Regions from separate parts of the Homo sapiens genome. Here region 1 is linked to region 2. Evidence: promoter capture Hi-C in 16 types of primary human blood cells and fetal thymus (Javierre and others, 2016). All regions are on one chromosome and are shown on one strand. Each heading gives the region's core, a stretch centred on a gene start or on the middle of the fragment in contact. The rest is flanking DNA. Distances are from core to core; before and after follow the strand shown. Region 1 overlaps CDC27 (cell division cycle 27). Region 2 holds the start of TBKBP1 (TBK1 binding protein 1).

Region 1 (3,460 bases), core at 133-2,632, 580 kb before region 2:
AAATAGATTCTAATTGGAACAAAAAAACCTTTGTGTCCCTTTTGAAGAAATTTCAGAAATCACGTGATCAAAGAATAAGCAGTTGACTTGCAAATTCGCAGCTGCTGGTTGGTAAGGGGCTTCTGTAGTTTGAAAAAAGGTATTCTAAAAATTACCATTGTTTTTGTCATAGTATTTATTTTGATATTCCAAATAATACTAAAAAAGAGTATGACCGTTTAAAAATATAAATATATTAAGAGTGTAAGTTTTAAAAAATTAGATAAACATTGCTCTAGTTTTTTGTGAAACATAAAACTGTATCTCTGTTTTTCTGTGCCTTCTTATTAAAATACAGATGGCACAGCTTTCATATAGCTTTAACAACTTGATTATAAATTGCTTTCAAAAGTAACTTATTTGGATTTTCCATATCCTTTAATGAATTGCAAATATATTAACAGAAAAGACTTTCCCCCTCAACACTGTACAATTTCTGAAATAAGTCAGTTAAAGCAAAAAGAAGACACAAAATTACATTGTTTCAATGCAAACAGAACACACACTTCATACCCACACTTGCATTTTCCCAGGTTTTCACAAAGAAAATGGGTCACCATATTTCTCAGTGAAGACTCATACTATACTCTGGCTAATCAGAGACTTCCAAACTTTTTTCTTCAAAAAGAGCATTTTTAATAGACTAAATACTGGTTATCACTGAGTTTTTGTTTAAGGTACAACAGCAGCATGGTTCAAATGTTACTTGTAGTTCTCGGAAAAATTAAAAATTTTAAGTGATGAATACAGAAAATGTAGGGACCACCTTTCATTCTTTTGAGTACCACTGTTCTCTTGAAAAAATATTCTAACCTTCTAAAATCCCAGAGTTAAGAACCATTTCCAAGGGGAAAAACAAATCCAAGGCCACAACATAACTTCTGAACAAGTGTGTGCGCGTATATATATATGTATATAGATGTATTAAGTTGGTGCAAAAGTAATTGCAGGTTTTGCCATAAAAGTCATGGCAAAAACCACAATTACTTATGCACCAACCTAATATATGTGTGAAACAGAGAAAAGGATGTCAAACTACTTAATTTAATTTCTGTAAAATAAACTTCTGAAATTTGAAGCAAACATTTTGCTTGATCAAAATGTGTTCTTCTTCGGGTTGTTTGATCCCCATTCCATGCAAAAAACAAAACCAAACAAAAAAAGAAACTGCAAAAGCCAGAAAGTGTTACTACGTGGGAAATAAGGCTTCAAATACCTAAATGACTTTGAAAGTAGGTATGAGGAAAAATAAAATAGGCCAAGCTTGGGCGGAAACTGTCCCCCAACCAGCCATTGCCATGGCATGTCTTACAAAACGATCCTTTTATCCTTGGTCTCAAAAAATCAGTACCAGAAAGACTCTCACCTCTGGCACATAAATTCCTGCTACAAAAAGATAATTATACTTCAGCAAGTTATGTTCTAAGCTTAGCTTTCTCCAGGCTTTATAACGCAGAACTCAGGTTGAAGCTTTCTATAAAACTCTAAATGACACTGTTATACAGCACCTTGTGCTTTGCCAATTAAAAAAATAAAAGAATCTAAAATTAAATATTACAGAACTAATGGATAATACAATAGCATACGTGTTAGAATCCAAGTGCTAGCCTCTGGGAATTTTTCATTATATTTATTTTCTCCCAACTGTTCCTTTTTTTTAAAAAAGTATTGTTTTAGACAGTACATATACATAAATTTAGGTAGGGAAATCTGTTAAATATCTCTCTGGCACCTGATACCTAAAGACCCTGACTTGAATTAATTTATAAATTGTACCTAATCCATGTTCAAATGAGATTAACAGTAAATTATAGAAAATTACTGAGTCTACAGACTAAAATTTTTTTCACATCTTTTGTAATCCACCTTATTTTCACAGCTTGACTAACAAATACAGGTAAGTTTGTCCTCCATCAAATAATCCAGAATAATAACTGTAGGCCTGTCATTCATAAGAAACTATAATTTGTTATATTCTGACACTGGCACTTAATAAAATGTTAACAACTAAAATTTCTCTAAAAATTTCAATACATTACAGTAAAGGAGATAAACAATTTAAGACTGTTTAAATCTGTTACTGTGGAATTCCAATAATTATCATTTTATATGCATAATTGAATTCTTAAAATTGTGGCCATTTTCCAAAGACACCAATCTATATTATGACAAACTCAGAAGAGAACCTATCTCCTTCATAAGAATGTTTTTTCCCCCAAGCTAAAAATTTCCAACATCCTAAACCCAATTACTCTTAGTAAATGTTTTGGTGACTCACACTACTGAAAAAATCTGAAGCAGAGAGTCAAAAAGAATGGAAAGGATCTCAACCAAAGGTAACCACACATTCTTACACTCTGCTTAAGCAAACACTTAGAAAAGTCAAAGGGATGTTTTGAACAAATATAGATTCAAGGTTATGGTACAATTCTGATTATATTAAGGCTTTCACTATCATGATCTCTTAAAAGTCTCTCCACTTTAGTGTTCTCCTTCTGATTCATATGGTGAACTTAAGGGGTTATTAAGGGCCTTGTTTTGGCTTCTCAGTGGGGAACCACTCTATCATCTCTGAATGTTAAAGGTGATCCCACAGAGCTCAAAGAGAAGAGGCAATATGGTAAGAAACAATTTTAAAGTTTGCAATACCAAGACAACAATGATCAACACTTTGAAGCAAGATGAATAAATTAAAATTCTTGGTTAGACATTAAAGCATTCTTGCCAAGAATAAGAGTACACTGTATGGAGGGATATTTGATTCCTACATACGAGTCCCAATATGCCCATTACATTTGTTTATGGGAGATACTGCAAGTTTAAGGTAATTTACATTCCTTGGCAATCAAGTCACTGTTATAGGCAACGTCTTTTATTGTTCCATCTGGCACTTGCAAACACCATTCTTGAAGAACCTAGAAATGAAGGTCAGTTACTCTGTTTATCAGGAACAGAACCAAATAAAAACAAATTTTTGAAAAAGCAACCAAGAAACTCTGGTTCATCACTATTTTCCATATCTAATGGTTCCTTCAAGATAAAGCATAACTCTTCCTTTCATGATACTTTCCAACAAAGGGAGATTAAAGAAAAACAGAAAAGAAAGTTCCCCACCCTACCCCCCATAAATTGTCATTCATACTGGTAAAAGAGCCAGTCTTGTTAGCAGCTAAATATTGCACTGCCTTTCATTCTGTATACAGTCAGGGTCCAATGAAAGTGGCACACTCATGGTATAAGTGACGGACGATGACACCGCCAGCTCAAGAGTAAAGACTCAGTATACAGAGGGACAAGAAACACGTCAGCACTAGTCACACATCCAGTTGTAAAAGTCTGATTTCCAGAAGTTAAAATTCATCACTTTCAGCTGCATGAAGTTGTGTGTCATCCGCATCTGTCATGCTGCTCTCCTGGGATT
Region 2 (3,603 bases), core at 1,104-3,603:
GTGATCTGCCTGCCTCAGCCCCACAAAGTGCTGGGATTACAGGCATGAGCCACTGTGCCTGGTCCTTTATCACAATTTCTAGTGGTTTTACTTATTCATCTTTTTATTTTTCTGACTTCTCTACCATACTGCAAGCTCTAAGAGAGCAAGAGACATGTATACCTGTCAGAGACATGTTCAGCACTGTATTCTCAGCACCCAGCACATAATAGATGTTCAAGAAATCTTTGCCGAATAAATATACAACGAGCAGGTACCAACCCTCAGGGCACCTTAGAATACAAGGATGGATGGGATATAATCTCTGCTCTCAGAACTGCCTGGTATGAGCAGCAGAACTAGAAATGGAGAATGCAATGAGATCAGGTCCAGATTGGGGGAGGGGGAGGATTTTAGGGCACCTAAACCAGGCCTAATGGACTTTTGCCACCAACCACCTAGAACCAAGGATAGAAGCATTTGGCTGCACCCTGCCAGGTGACTCAATTAGGCCCTGAGCATCCAAGCAGCAGCAGGGGGCTGATGACTCATCCCAGACAGTGTGTGCTTAGAGGGTCCTGGGACCCCTTTTTCCAGTGAGGGAGGGCTTGCCAGTTGGTCTTATGGGTCCTGTTTGTGGCCAAGTCCAAGGTCACCGAGGGTCCCAGAGACAACCCTACACCTCCTAGTCTAGCCTCCAATCTTTTGCCTGGTCCCTTGCTTCAGAAGAGATCTTGGGGAGTACTAGGGAAAGGAACATCTGCCTAGCCCTTGGGATTAGTGGGGTGACAGATGTCCCCACTGGTTTGCCTTCATATCTAGAGGGTAGATAGGTCATCCCACATGGTTCAGAGAAAGCTAGTGCCTCAGAGAACAAGTGGCTGACCTGCCTTCCTGTTCTGGACTACAAACGGGAGCCAGTGCTGGCAGGAAAGACTGAAAGGGAACCCAGCAGGAGGAGGAGGAAGGAAGCCACTGAGAATCCCCCCTTCTATGAAGAGAATGAGTCTAGAGCTCTGGCTGGCTCTCCTGGTAGAAGCTCACCTCTCAGTCCAATTTTCTCCCAGCAGTGAGGAAAGATGGCAGCTGCTGCTTTTCAAAGCTCAGAGAGAGCAAGAAACCTTTTCCTTCCATCCTCCCCCTCGGAGATTCCCACCCCCATCCCACCTCAGGAGCCAAAAAGGTAGGCTCAGGTTCCCAGCAGTCTTCGCAGCTAAGGCTGAATCTGCCAAAAGCCCCCGCCCAGCTTATCCCCTGCTTCCGGGCTTTGCCTCCCTGTCCACAGAGGATGCTCTTCAGCCAGAGTGCTCCAGGGTTCCCCTGATCATTCTCTACCTGCAGCTAGGCTGACCATGCCTCTGTCCACATTATTTAATCCACCAGGCAATACTCAAAATGACATCGTTAACACTTCCTGAGCATTCGCAGGCTGCTGTATTTAGTTCTGATCCCCATTCTTCCTCCATGAGAGTGCTTAGGTGGGGCATGATCTCCAGCTTAGAAAGGTTAAGGTAACTTGCCCAAGGTCACACAGCAGGAAAGTAGCAAAAAACTTGTTTCTCTTGCCCAGCAGTTTGGCAGGTGCTCAAATAATCTTTGTGCACAGGGTGACATCTGTTGTTTCTTCATTTCCCTGACCTGTGGGTACTTGAGGGTGGCCGGGGAGTGGTGTGTGGGGAGGGAGATGGCTGTCCTTCTTCATGAATGAATCTTTGACCTCCTTAGTTTACTCTCACTTCCAAAGAAGTTACAGCTTTAATCTCTCTGTACCCTATGTTCAATGTATTTATCGCAGCAATGCCCCTTTTACCAAGAGCAACGAAGAGCAGGTCTAATGATTTCCTTCTCAAAAGCGCAAAGACCAAAAAAAAAAAAAAAAAGCCAGATAAATAGCCCCACTTCCTCCCCAAATATACAGCCCATAACTAAACAACCAAAACAACCAAAGCATCAGCCGGGCCCCTGCACTGACCGCAGACGCCCCCAACACACGCCACCACGCCACACTGCGCCGGGAGGCGTCGGGGAGGGGGCGCCAGCGCGGGCCGCTGGCGCCGCAGGGAGCCGGTGGGCTCCGGGCGCGCTGCCAGGAAGGGCCGCACCGTAGGGGCCGCCGCCTCTCGCCACGTGGTGGTGGCAGCGGCGGGGTCCGGGGCGCCTTCCCAGCTGGAGAAACCCGGAGCAGCCGGGGAGGAGGAGGCGGAGGAGGCGGCGGCGGCGGAGGAGGAGCGGGGCGGACGGGAGGGAGGGGGTTGGGGGGAGGGGTGGGGGGTGGGGAGAGACCCGGCGGCGGCGACAGGGCGAGGAGCAGAGCGCGGTACCAGGGGGGTGGGGGCACTGGTGCCCGTTTGGGGAGGGAGCAGGCGGAGGGGGTAAGCTGCGATTACAAGCAGGAACCGGCAGCAGCTGTGAGTCCCCGGCTGGGGCTAGGGCTGGGGGAGGGGAGCGGCGCCCGGGCTGGGCCCCAGGGGTCGCGGGGTGGGCAGGAGGAGGCGGCAGGAGGGCGGCTGGCAGCCGCACGGGATGGCTGGGAGGGAAGGGGTCCGGTGTCGGCCGCCCTCATCCCCTCGCGTCCCCCTCCGCCGCCGTTCCTCAGGCCGCGCCACTCCCGGAGCCCCTTCCCCGGCCCCGAGAGGGTGTCCGGGGGCCCAGGGCTCGGCCGGTTGTGGGGGAGGGGGCTGCGTGGTCTCGGCCCCCGAGAGGGGAGGGGCGACAATTTCTGTCGGCCGAGCGAAAGGGGTTTAAAGGGCGGCTCTTAAAGGGGCCGCAGGAGGGGCCCGGGCCGACAGAGGCACTCACCCCTTCCCCAGCCGCCTTCCATTGCGCTCACCCGGGCGCTGGGCCCAGAGAGGAATGCGGAGGAAGGAGGCATTTGTGGTGCGGCCTCGGGGACAGAGCCCCGCCAGCGGGGTGGGCGCAGAGGGGCGGGCGGGGGTCTGGGGGGGTGTGGTAAGCGCTGGCGCGCGGAGCTGGGGGGAGGGGATGGCGTGGGAAGGAGAGGGTTAAAGGTGGGGCCGGCCCTACAAACGCGCGCACACACTCCTTACTCAGACCCAGTCACTCGCGTTTCCCTGGCACTTAGATGGGCCTGTGGGTGGCGGAGGGGGGGGGGTGGATTGAATTGGAGCCTGCGCCGGAGCCCTTTGCACCCCAAGCTCCTGCAGCCCGACCTGGGGGCCCCGCTGTCTGAACTCACAGCTCCCTGCCGAGCCCCCTCTCCGGGGTGCACATAACGCTCCAGCGCGCGCACACACCTCGGACAGTCCCCTCGCGTCTCACGTGACACGCGGCCCGGACGTGCCACCCTGCCCACGCGCTCACGCACGCGTGCACACACCAGCCTCCTGGTCGCTGCCCCACTCCGTCCCGACGCCCCTGCGACCCCGAAGGCACTCATTGACTGACACACCTACACTCATTCACAGACGCACACTCCCCCCATACGCCAACCCCAGACACACATTCATAACCAGGCCCGAGAGAAGTACACACGCACCCCCTCACTGCCTACTCCTGCTTTCGGGAGCCTGAGTCATTCCTGCCCCCTCGTAGGGTTCCCCATTTCCCGGTGCGCGGGCACCCTGAGACAGCCTTGGGAATTCGTTCGCGTCCCCTTCCACCTGG

The links. Contacts are between HindIII fragments. The CHiCAGO score rates a contact against its expected background, and 5 or more counts as called.
Region 1: a fragment that was not itself captured here is called in contact with the fragment with the promoter of TBKBP1 in region 2 in 1 of 17 cell types (erythroblasts); the score reaches 5.4 in erythroblasts.

Annotation. Positions count from the first base shown.
Region 1 is chr17:47,117,546-47,121,005 of GRCh38, forward strand. It overlaps CDC27 (cell division cycle 27), which reads right to left. Exons shown (of 19, transcript NM_001256.6): 19 at 158-3,460. The coding sequence ends at 3,390. Among named protein-coding and RNA genes, the nearest start is that of CDC27, 70 kb to the right of the region's middle. RefSeq lists an enhancer at 2,255-2,865. The HindIII fragment of the contact is 164 bases long and covers 1,301-1,464 here.
Region 2 is chr17:47,691,808-47,695,410 of GRCh38, forward strand. It overlaps TBKBP1 (TBK1 binding protein 1), which reads left to right and starts at 2,354. Exons shown (of 10, transcript NM_001394755.1): 1 at 2,354-2,387. RefSeq lists enhancers at 2,109-2,789, 2,790-3,469, 3,470-3,603 and silencers at 2,573-2,702, 2,953-3,012. The HindIII fragment of the contact is 10,063 bases long and covers 1-3,603 here.